Regions from separate parts of the Homo sapiens genome. Here all the other regions are linked to region 2. Evidence: promoter capture Hi-C in 16 types of primary human blood cells and fetal thymus (Javierre and others, 2016). All regions are on one chromosome and are shown on one strand. The core of a region is centred on a gene start or on the middle of the fragment in contact, and the rest is flanking DNA. Distances in the headings are between cores, read along the strand shown.

Region 1 (3,853 bases), core at 500-2,999, 250 kb after region 2:
TGCTTCAGCCTCCCAAAGTGCTGGGATTACAAGTGTGAGCCACTGAACCCAGCGCCCTGAGCTTTCTTAAAAGATGGATTTGTCAGATGGGAAACCAAGGGGCACTTGGTGGTTTGTGGTTACAGAAAAAGGACAGCTGAGGGAGGCTCTGGCGCCTTCATCCAAAGCAGTCCCATCAAGTGCTATCAGTTTTGCCTCCTAAACATCATCTGAATCTCTTATCTCCCCTCTGGGTGAAGCCACTGCCCTAGCCCAGGCCCAGGCTTCTCTTACTGGGTTATCTGTCCACCATTCCTTCCCAGGGCCGGGCCCCTACAGTTCATGCTCCACATCCCCATAGCTATACCTCCAAGAACTCAGCCTCCTCACCTGGAAAGGAAACAGGCCAAAAGAGGCCAAGTAGCTTGGCTCACACTGCAGCTGAAATGAAAACTTTTAGGCCTCCTTACTCTCTAATGCCTCTCACCAAATCTCACCGTGTGCCTCCACCCAGCCTCCCTTCCTGTCCTTGATCCAATATGAAACCCACCCCCAGTGTCCGAGGGGGCACCTCTGGCCACAGGCATTGTTGGGGCTGAGTCACCATAGTCAGTTTCTCCGGTGCAGGAAGGGATTTTCTCCCAGAGGGAGGCTCAGCTCCAGGTCACAGTGGCAGAGCTGAGGGCCAGGAGCAGGAGGGGAGGTGGAGACTTGGGTCCCAGCCCCTACCATTCTGGCCCATAGGGAAGAGGGGTGGAGCACAGAGGTCAAGCTCAGAACTCTTCCCCTCAGTGGTCAGCCCAGAACCCCACCCTGTCCTCCAGCTCCCACCTCCGCGTGGGCCTCTTGAACTCAAGCGCTGACAAAGCTTCAGGGATTTAGATGGAACAAGCCAGAAAAGCTTCCAGGTGAGGGTAAGGACCCTGAAGACCAAGGGCATCAGACACACTCCTACTTGAGCCCTCAGCTCTTCATCCCACTCTTGCAAGCTAGCCTCAATACCCCAAGGGACAGGTGAAGAAACAGGCCAGGGCCACACCTTTCAGCAAGCAGAAATTGGGGAGGGGGAGTCTGGAGGAGAGCACAGTGCTTACTGTGAGGGGGCGCTCAGCCCTGGCCTGGAAGCCTGCACCCAGCCTTGGTGCACCCTGGCTTGCATGTGTATGTACCTCTGCCCAGGCGAGACAGGCAGGCTGTGGAGAGGGCATCTAGACCCCACAGCCCAGCCTTCCCCTGGGGAAGGAGGCTGAGGGCCAGTCAAGGTGGAGAGGCCAGACCCTGAGATGCAGCTGAGCAGCTGGCAAATAGGGACTCCAAACACACTCTGGCAGCCGCAGGAAATACTTATTTGGGTACACTGGTGATGCCTGCTAGTCCCCTACAATGGACACCCTGTCCTACACTTTGGCATCCTTTTCTGCTCCAGAACATCCCTCCTGATGTCCAGCCTCTGTTTCCTTCCCCTCTTCTGGTGCAGGTGAAACATCTCCTGGATCTTCAGAGGTGTCCCTCCCCTTCCTGCCCACCTGAAAAGCCCTGGAGAGAGACACCTGTGCCCTAGGTACCCAAGGAGAGTCAAATCCCAAAGCACATCTGCCCAGGGTAGGAGGAGGCCCCCAGCTTGGCTTCTGCTCAGGAGAAAGGCCCCTGCCCCCTGTGAAGCCAGGCCTCCCGACAGCCCCAGCATGGCCGCCCCATAGCTGCCCTGTGCCTGCTGCAGACAGGCCGGGGACTCCCACAGGCTGGTCCTCTCCACACCTCCCCAGGTTCCATCAGGTGTCACTCTTGTTCTTCAGCCTCTCTCTGAGGCCGTTAGTTTAAATGTGTCCCTCTCTCCCGTCTTTAGACAACATAACAAACAATAAAACCCTAAATTAACTGAAAATTGTCTCTCCCCAGAGCCTGAGGCCCCACCCAGCTATGGCCTGCCAGGCTTCGGCAGGGAGCTGTCTCCCTCAATCCACCTGGCCCTGGCCCTGGTCTCCCCTCTCCCTTTAGGCGAATCCCACCAAGTTCCTGTGCCACTCACCAGGGCACAGAGCAGTCCTCCTCACCCCCCAGCAGCACCTGGCCTTGCAGCCCACCCTGCGCCCACCCCTCCCCTGGCTGCCAGGACACTGCCACGGACGTTGCCCTCCCTGGTTTCTTTCCTGCCTCCCTAGCAGTGCCTTCTCTGTGGTGCCCTGGAGCAGCCCAGGCATCGTCCCCAGGACATTTCCTCCCAGCCCAGTCCTGGCCTAAACACCCACCTGAGTGCCTGTAGGTCTTCTTGTCTCCAGGTCTGTCTCCTGAGAGCTCTGGGCCTTCACATCTGGATGGCATGGGACATCCTCCATGGCTGTGTCACAGGTGCCCCCAGGACTGCTCCTGTTGCCCCACCCAGCTGGCCCTAAGCCCCCGACCCATTTCCCATTACCAAACCCTAGCACAGGGGTGTCCAATCTTTTGGTTTCTCTGGGCCACATTGGAAGAATTTTCTTGGGCCGCATATTAACACTAACAATAGCTGAAGAACTAAAAAGAAAAGAAAAAAGCAAAAACATCTCAATGTTTTAAGAAAGTTTATGAATTTGTGTTAGGCCCCATTCAAAGCCATATCCTGGGCCACATGCGGCCCTTGGGCCGGGTTGGAAGCTTGCCCTAGGAATTTTAGATGGAGACGCTCTGTCTTGCCGGGTGTAGCACCCGCTCCTGTGGCTCCTTTCCTCTCCACACTGGCCAAGCAGGAGCTGAATGCTTTGGAGGCTCCCTGGGCATAAGGCCCAGGTGACCACTATGTGTTGGTGCTCAGCCTTTGCACATGCTGTCCCTCTCTGTGGAACACATTCCCTGGCCCGCACATCTTCCTCACCCCCAATTACCTCCCGGGCTCCACACAGTGCATTTCCTCAGGTGCTGCGCTGACCAGTGTGGTAGCTGCTGGCCACGTGGCTATGGAGCCCTTGAAATATTTGAGTTCCAATCAAGATGTGTAAGATACACTCCAGATTTCAAAGCAAAAGCAAAAACAGCTCATTCACACTTTTTATACTGATTTTATATTGAAATGAAAATATTTTGGATAGACTGGGTTAAAAAAAAATTAAGTTCACCTGCTTCTTTTTACTTTTTGAAATGTGACTGTCAGAAAATTTAAAGTCACATATGTGGCTCACACTATTTCTGTGGGACAGCCCTGCCTCTAGCTAGGGGCTTTGGTGAGAACCAGATGAGTTGATGGGTCTCCTCTGGGCCCTGCTTCCCTGGCTGCTGAGGTGCAGGAACTGTGAGGGGAGGGCAGCCTGTCACGGTGCCCAACACAGGGCAGGGCTGGACAGGTACAAGTGGAACAGGCGGATAAGCTGGGAAGGGCACAGAGAAAAGGAGCTCCTCGTGACAGCACTTTCCCACCTTTTATTATTCAACACATGGAAGGGGGTGGAGACACAAGGATAGGGCAATGGTGAGTTTCAATAAATAAGAGAAACAGGATGGACAGGCAGTGGGCCCATGCCTGCACGGCCCCACATAAATAACCAGGTTGCTGAGCCAGAGTGGAAGTCAGGGCTGGGCCTGGCAGCCGCCTGCACTGCCCAGAAGCACTGGCACCACAGGGACACAGAAACCACTGAGGCCCAAGGTGTGCTCCAGCCCCACCAAGTCTTCTCCCTAAAGCTCCTGAGATCTTGGGGCTGGCTGGGCAGGCTAGGGCTCTGTATCACAGTCCTGCCGGGATCAAGTCTATTTTTTCAGTTTCATTAAAAACAGCTGGGGGAGGGGCAGGCACATGCATTAAGCCCCTTCCGTAGGCAGAGCCATGGATGGACAGCCCCATGGGGGCCTTGAAGGCAGAGGCCCTGGAAGCAGCAAAAACGGGGCTGGATAAAGCTACTAA
Region 2 (3,644 bases), core at 1-2,500:
CCGCTCCCTCCCCTCTCCACGGTCTTGACACAGATCAGACAAGAGGGTCAGGTGCAGACTCCTTTTCCAGCCCCTCCCCTTGATGCACCCACCTTGTCTACACTTGTTGCGGATGTTGCTGCCTAAGCGGCCGCTACTCGATGCTGCTGCCACCCAACCCGCTGCGCCTGCGCTTTGTGTGCCCCGGAGAGCCTGGGGCATTTCTCTCCTCCCGCAGCGCCTGAGAGCCCAGCTGCCCCCGGGCCCCGCCCTCCGGACCTGCCCACCCCAGGGAGGGGGAGTGACGTGAAGAGATGCTGACCCGAGGCGTACTGGGACTTGTAGTCTACCCCTGTAGAGCTGGGCAGAAGCAGCCCCGCCTGCAATTTTACTTTTCTATTAAGACATTTGTTCACTCATTTATCATGAAATACTTTTTCTTAAGAATCATTGAACTCAGTTCCTAGAAAAAAAGAAAAAGTAAAGTTGCAAGGAGAAGCCAAGCTCCTAGTTTTGCATGTTTTTTTGATGCTTCCCCTTTCCATCCCCAGCTTCCAGTCTAGTGAGGGAGATTACATGGAAACACACAATTGGAGCACAAGGTGTGATTTAACAATGGAAAAGATGAGCCTGACTTTTCTCAAGGGGTTCAGGAAGGCTTCCCAGAGGAGGCTGAAAGGGGCCTTGGAGGATGAGGGGCAGTTTCCTAGGCGACCCGAAATTTCCCCTATGAATACTGTCAGGATGTTGAAGAGTGCCCAGCATTTCCGTGTGTCTAGAACATAAAGCGCAGGGGTGGGGAGGGCATCGGGAGTGTCAGGCGATAGAGCTGCAGGGTTTGGAAAGAAATAGCACAGAGGCCTTGCATGACAGGCGGAGAGCTTGGATGTTAGGACGCAGTGACTGGAGCTGGGGGTGGGAGTTTCAAGATGAGGAGTGAGGTGTGTGATTAGGGGGTCGGAAAGGCCCCTCTAGGGCACAGTGAAGAATGGACTGGCGGGAGCCCACCTGGAGAAAGGAAGACTTTCTGTATCTATCACCTCGGACTGTGATCATTTCCTTCAATAGCTCAGCCCCGCAAACCCTCACCTACCAGCAGCCACAGGATGTCATTCAGAGACCAGAGGATGTCAGGGCCTAAAAGACTTCTGTCCCGTCCCCTATGTGGCAAGGGTGCCCACCCTGCCCTGGGCCCTTCCTCCTGTCCCAGAGAACTCTTCCTTACCGGGGCTGCAGGGCTCATGGTTCCTGGGTGGCCAGGGCAGCATTTCCCAGAAGGCTCCCGCAGCGGGGCATTTCCCTGAGCGCCTTAGAGATAAGGGGATCAGGAAGGTGCTACCAAGTGGGAGGCTGGAGGGGGAGGCAAGGAGGGAGCGCACAGATCCCAAGGAAGGTCGCCCTCTTTCTCCAGGCTCCTCCCAGCCTTTCCAACTGATGGCTCTGACCCTAGGTTCACTAGACAAGTCATCCCTGATTCAGAAGTGGTCTTGGCTCAGCATCGCCGAGGTTCCCGGAGTGGAATCGGGGCGAGGTTGCGGGGGCAGGACAGGAACCGGGCTGGTCCTCCTCCCTAGGTTGGGGGCGGGGCTACATCTTCATTCTTTGGCCTGGCAGGACAGCGCCCATCACCCCAGTCCTGGCTGCGCAGTCTGGCTCTTTAAGCCTTCCTCTCTTGCTCCTGAGTCTCTGTAATCCTGACCTCGAGCTACCCTCGCTCCTCGGCCCTTTGTGCGGTGCGTGCCCTGCTGAGGGATTCGCCATGGCCAATCCTATTAACCATTGAGTTCATCCCCTCTTAGCCGACTCAAGAACCAGCTCTCCCATACCGCGTTTTCATCTCTGTGCCTTTAACTCACTCTCTGTCTGGTTCCTGGAACGTCCCAGTCCCAGCTTCTCCTAGCTAAATTTTCCACCTCCACAGTGGAAGGAAGAAAGGAAGCAGTGGGAGGGGGAAAGAGGCAAGGAAAGAGATATGGAAGGAAGGAAAGACAGAAGGAGAAAAGAAGGGAGGGGAAAGACGGGAAGGCAGGTAGGTAGGGCTGCAGCTGGCCTCGGAGGATCTGCGCCTGGGTCCTGCCCCGACCCAGCCTCTCTCCAGCTCTCCCTGCTCCCCTCCCCGATGGGCAGTGGGGCATCCTTCATGTTGAGGGGCGGGGACGGTGCAATCATCTCCTAGATTTCATTCTCTGGATTTAGCAACCAGATGAAAAAGGAAGGTTCTCCAGCAGCAGTGGAGACTTCAGGGGAAGACTCTCCCCTACCTCCCAAAGAGCGGGCACTATGACGAAAAAAAGAGGAAAGGACGTGGCAAACTAAAACCACAGACACTACTACCGAATCTAAACGTAGCCGGACTTGGCCCATGTCTCTAAAAGCTGGTCAGTGACCCTCTTTGAGAAGCCAATAAGGAAGTGTAGACTGTCCTCAGGAAAAAATCTGCGTATAATTCCTGGGAGTTCATAGACCTCTGAAGCCATGATAGTCATGGTTGGATTGTTTTTAATTTCCAGAGCTGTGTAGATGGGAGGAGAGTGTAGATTGACGAGTGAGAGGTATGACAGTATGTCAGGAATTCCAGCCGCAGCAGTCCTGGCTGTGAGAGACTTTGTTTGTTCAATCAACTAAAACTTATTGAGACTAATAAGCCAACAAGTAACTTTTACATTTCTTTGTGGCTATGGTGCACAGAACCATTGGCAGAGAGGAAAAGATTTTGCCATTTCAAGTGTCCCTGGTGAATGAACAGCCCACAGATAATACATTGTTTAGGAAATAGTGGACTGGCTCATCAAATTCAAATTTACTACTTACATTTTCTAGAGAGTATAATATAATGAGAATAATTTATATTATCTTTATTTTAAAAAACTTGAAGTTTATATCAAGATGCAATTTGAGCAAAAGTAAAAGTGCTTATGAAAACATTTTAAATGGCCGGGCGCTGTGGCTCATGCCTGTAATCCCAGCACTTTGGGAGGCCAAGGCGGGCAGATCACCTGAGATCGGGAGTTCGAGACCAGCCTGACCAATATGGAGAAACCCCATCTCTACTAAAAATACAAAATTAGCTGGGTGTGGTGGCACATGCCTGTAATCCCAGCTACTAGGGAGGCTGAGGCGGGAGAATTGCTTGAACCGGGAGGCAGAGATTGTGGTGAGCCGAGATTTCACCACTGCACTCCAACCTGGACAACAAGAGCTAAACTCCGTCTCAAAAAAAAAAAAAAAAAAAAAGAAAAGAAAACACTTTAAAGTGATAATTTTACGCTTTTTTTTGTCTTTTTTTTTTTTTCCTTTTTCTGGAGAACGGGGTCTCGCCATATTGCCCAGGCAGGTCTCGAACTCCTGGGCTCAAGCTATCCTCCCGCCTCTTGCCTCCCTGAGAGCGGGATTACAGGCGTGAGCCACTGCGCCCGGCCAAAGTGATAATTTTAGTGAGATGTAATTCACCTACCATAAAATTCACCCTTTTAAAGTAAAAAATTCAGTGGGTATTTTTTTTTTTTTTTTTGATGGAGTCTTGCCCTGTCACCAGGCTGGAGTGCAGTGGTGTGATCTCGGCTCACTGCAACCTCCGCCTCACAGGTTCAAGTGATTCTCCTGCCTCAGCCTCCCGAGTAGCTAGGACTACAAGCGTGCACCACCATGCCCAGCTAATTTTTGTA
Region 3 (3,997 bases), core at 335-2,834, 180 kb after region 2:
AAAAATACAAAAAATTAGCCAGGCATGGTGGCACGTGCCTGTAGTCCCAGCTACTCGGGAGGCTGAGGCTGGAGAATCGCTTGAACCCAGGAGGCAGAGGTTGCAGTGAGCCAAGATCACCCCACTGCTCTCCAGGCTAGGCAACAGAGTGAGACTCCGTCTCAAAAAAAACAAAAACAAAAACAAAAAATCTATGATCTCTTTTCATTATTAATGTCTCAATACTCTGCGAGGAGAGTGCTTTTATTTAGAGAGAGAGTGTATGTTACTTGGGTATATTTTTAGATAACTCTGGCTGTGAGAATATTTTTTTCCCTTAAGTTTAACTGAAATATATATATAACTCCTTTAACTTTCATCTTCAAGTTGTTCTAGTTTCAGTTTGTTGGCTGATGGTAATTTTATCTAGCTCGTTGCCCTGGGGTAGTTTGCCAGGGCTACACATTACGTATGTTTTAGGACATTCTGTCCTCTGAAATTGGCCAATGGCATTTTCCGTTTTGCTTATCTGATGGTCCCAGCTTCCTCTCCTTGTTAGCCCACCTTTTCTCCACATCTCATTTTTGAACCCTAGACAGACTAATCACAGAGCAGTTGTCATCATGCCAGCTGTTCACTGCCTGCCTTCAACATTTGACTTGTTTCCTATTTTGAAGTGATACAAGAGAAGTTAATGACCTAAAAAATTGCTCATCTATCTTGTGAACCTAGTTAGGAAGGAATTGTTTGATTTTTATGATGTGTAAATAATATATTTGGAGACACATTTTCAAATGTGTCAGGCTATATAGTAAGGAAAGGCTCCCTAAACAAGGTGGGACAAATTGGCTGGCTAATAGAGCTTAATGACAGATTTTCCATTAATCAGAATGGAGAATGTGCTTCATTAAGATAATTAACAGAGCACTTGTGCAGGTGATACTTATTGCACACAAATTTCCAAGTTTATTTCTTTCCCTTGAATAAATTTGGAGAGAAATCCTAGCCATATTTCCTTGTTTGCATTAAAATTATCAGTGGCAACAAATTCCCTTTTCTGTTTTTAAAGCTGCTGGTAACTGGTATCTTGTCCTCTGCAGGTGTAAGGGGCGGATGAGACACTGCTTTTCCTTCCAGCAGTCTGTTTGCTCGTCACCAGACACCAAGCTCCTCTAGTGAACCGTAGAAAGCTTATCCTTTTCCAACTCTTAGACTAACAACATTGGAATTAGAAAGGACCTCAGAGATCTTAAACTAATTCATTTTATATCAGGACATTGAAGTCCAGACAGGGGAAGTGACATGGCCAATGCCACATAGTACTCTAGTGCCAGAGCTGTCTGTGGGATAGTGGGACTAACACTGAGCTGAGAGCCAAAATGCCTAGGTTGACATTAGGCAAGTTATATTACTTCCTTGCTCCTTACTATCTTCATCTGTCAAATGGGGAAAGTATTTAACATAGGGCCAACTACAAGCAAATTGGCTTTTTTGTTTAGTCTTCTTTCCACTACACCCTGATGCTTTCCTTTCAGGGAAAACTGAAGATTATGGAGGAGAAGCTGATGTCAGGAAGAATGAACAATCAATATCAGTGCTGTTTTCTTTGTTTTCTCTGTAGGATCCTCAGTCTTCCACAATGAACCCTGTTTACAGCCCCGTGCAGCCTGGGGCTCCTTATGGCAACCCTAAGAACATGGCCTACACGGGTGAGTAGTGTGAGAATGGCTCTCATTTTGAGAAATGGTGGTTAAGGATATTACCAAATAACTTGCTCCTCCTCCTAACGTATACCTCCAAAAGTCTTGGGAAAGTTTGGGAACATGCAGAAGATATGTCTGAGGTCCAGCGGAAAGATCTCAGAGAACCTGTTGTGTGGTTGTTTCCCAACTTTGTTCTACAATAATACCAGGAGAGTGTTTTAGAGAGTCTGCAAACATTTGATTTGATTATTTTAAAATATTGAGAACTATTTTTATAAAACATGAATACGTGTTAGATGATCAGTGTGTTAAGCTTCTAAGAATGCCTGTTAATTTTTTTAAAAAATGCTACCATTTATATCTGCTTATGTTTTTAAATCAGGATTTTCTCAATGCTATGCAACCAAATTAACATTCAGAAATATATTGGAGTTTCAGCCTGATATAACTGTAACTGTTATCACTAACTTTCTATTTCCCATGTTTGTGTTTATCACAACAGTTTCATTGTCCTTATTACTTAAATTAACAGTAAATATTTTCTGTTTGAATTTGTATTTGTATATTTATTCTAACAAAATTAATTTCCAGTAACCAGGACTCATGGGGCAGTACCCTATACCCTACTAGCTCATGGAGCTTGTTGCTTTTCCCCTTTCCAGTTCAGAGTGTTCCAGCAACTTAAGTTCCTCTGCCAGAGGGAACTGAACTGCTTTGGCAGACGGAGCCCAAGGGAACCCTGTGGGGCTTTGGTTTCCTATTTGCTTTGATCCTGGCTGCCTTCGTTCTTACTAAGTTGCTAAACTAGAGAAGGAAGAGAACAGTTGCATTTATCTATTGATTTGCATCAAGATTTAAACATTGTAAATCTGGAAGGGGAATTGACTTTGTCAAATTTTCCAAATTTCCAAAATTGGAAAGGGAACAGACTTTATCTCTGCTTGGCACATAGTAGGACTCGGTAATGTGTTTTGACTGACTGGACAACAACCAGGTTCAAATCCCAGCTCTGTCAGAGAATAGCTGAGTGACTTTGGACAACTTGCCCTAACCTCCCCAGACTTAATTTCTGTGATGAACTGGGATAATATTATCTATTTCATACTAGATAATTCTGGGAATGGGACAAAATATTATCCATTTCATAGGACAGTTGTGAGAATCAAACAAGATAATTTGTACTCCTCTAGAGGAAAGGAGGATCTTTTTTTGTCTCTATTAATCACCAAGGAATATTATGAGCCTGGAACTGTTTTAAGTTAATTCCCTGCTGTAGATTCTAGGACCACACAGATAGTATAAACTCCACATAAGTAGTATAAATTCAGACTTCATACAGGCCAAAGTTTCAAATTTGTAGGGAGACTTTTATTTTTTAACCCAACCTTGGCTGTTGAATCTCTGTACTTTTGGATTTTTTTTTTCTTTTTTTAACTGACACTATGACTCCTCCAAGGTCCCAACTTTATGTAGGGGAATTTGAGTTGCAGCTCTTGGCTGTTCCAGGGCCCACAGCCTATCTCCTACCCCTGGTGGCTGTAAAAAGCAAGCCCTTTGAGTGCCTAGACTAAAAAATCTCCCCAAAGCATCCCAATATCAGCTTACTACATAGACTTCCTGATTTTTAGTTTCCTCTTCATTTTTTGAGTAATAGGGATTTCTTTTTCTTTCTTAAAATCTCAACTCTACGTAATACAATGTTTGTTATACTTCATAACCAGCTTTTCTAGGTATTATGCAGTAGGCAGATTTTCAGGTTATTTTTCTTCTGTATTACTGGAGATGGAAGATCTAAGTAAAGATAATTTATAAACAAATGCCAAATATATTGCATTACAGTAAGCATTTATATGGTTATGTTAAAATTATTATCATTTGGTAAGAACATACTAGGTACTATATATTAATTATAATTTCATTAATCATAAATGCTATAGTTTTTATAGATAAAAAAACTATGGTAGTTTAATTCAGGTCATGTGACTTGACTAATGTATATAGCTTCTAAGGGATGAGAAAATATTTGAACTCAGTTCTTTGTGGTTTCAAAGTATATGTGCTTTCTGTTACAGTAAGCTAATCTGTCTTAAAATATGTGCTGCTTTCTCTCTTCCCCATGATAAACTAAAGATGAGGATTGTCTTTTCCATTTCTAGGGCTAGGAAAGCTTCCCTTTGAGGAGCTAGAATCCTGTTCCTGGCCAGCATTTTGGGGTAGCCTCAGGAGGGCAAAAGTACAGGGGGTCAAGTCCATTGTACTGTCATCTGCTTCAGAGGAAATGGGATGGTGGCTGCAGGGAACAGAGGAGTTGGAAA

What was found. The method cuts DNA at HindIII sites, captures the fragments that hold promoters and counts their contacts. A CHiCAGO score of 5 or more calls a contact.
Region 1: a contact is called between a fragment that was not itself captured here and the fragment with the promoter of PLEKHB1 in region 2, in 2 of 17 cell types (M0 macrophages and monocytes). The highest score is 7.5, in M0 macrophages.
Region 3: a fragment that was not itself captured here is called in contact with the fragment with the promoter of PLEKHB1 in region 2 in 1 of 17 cell types (endothelial precursors); the score reaches 5.3 in endothelial precursors.

What each region holds. Positions count from the first base shown.
Region 1 is chr11:73,396,145-73,399,997 of GRCh38, reverse strand. It overlaps RELT (RELT TNF receptor), which reads right to left. Exons shown (of 11, transcript NM_152222.2): 11 at 2,524-3,853. Among named protein-coding and RNA genes, the nearest start is that of RELT, 22 kb to the right of the region's middle. The HindIII fragment of the contact is 1,733 bases long and covers 883-2,615 here.
Region 2 is chr11:73,644,187-73,647,830 of GRCh38, reverse strand. It overlaps PLEKHB1 (pleckstrin homology domain containing B1), which reads right to left and starts at 1,250. Exons shown (of 8, transcript NM_021200.3): 1 at 1,205-1,250. The coding sequence starts at 1,222. RefSeq lists enhancers at 1-131, 767-1,685 and a silencer at 172-391. The HindIII fragment of the contact is 13,421 bases long and covers 1-3,644 here.
Region 3 is chr11:73,466,096-73,470,092 of GRCh38, reverse strand. It overlaps FAM168A (family with sequence similarity 168 member A), which reads left to right. Exons shown (of 8, transcript NM_015159.3): 2 at 1,601-1,688. The coding sequence starts at 1,619. Among named protein-coding and RNA genes, the nearest start is that of RELT, 92 kb to the right of the region's middle. The HindIII fragment of the contact is 826 bases long and covers 1,172-1,997 here.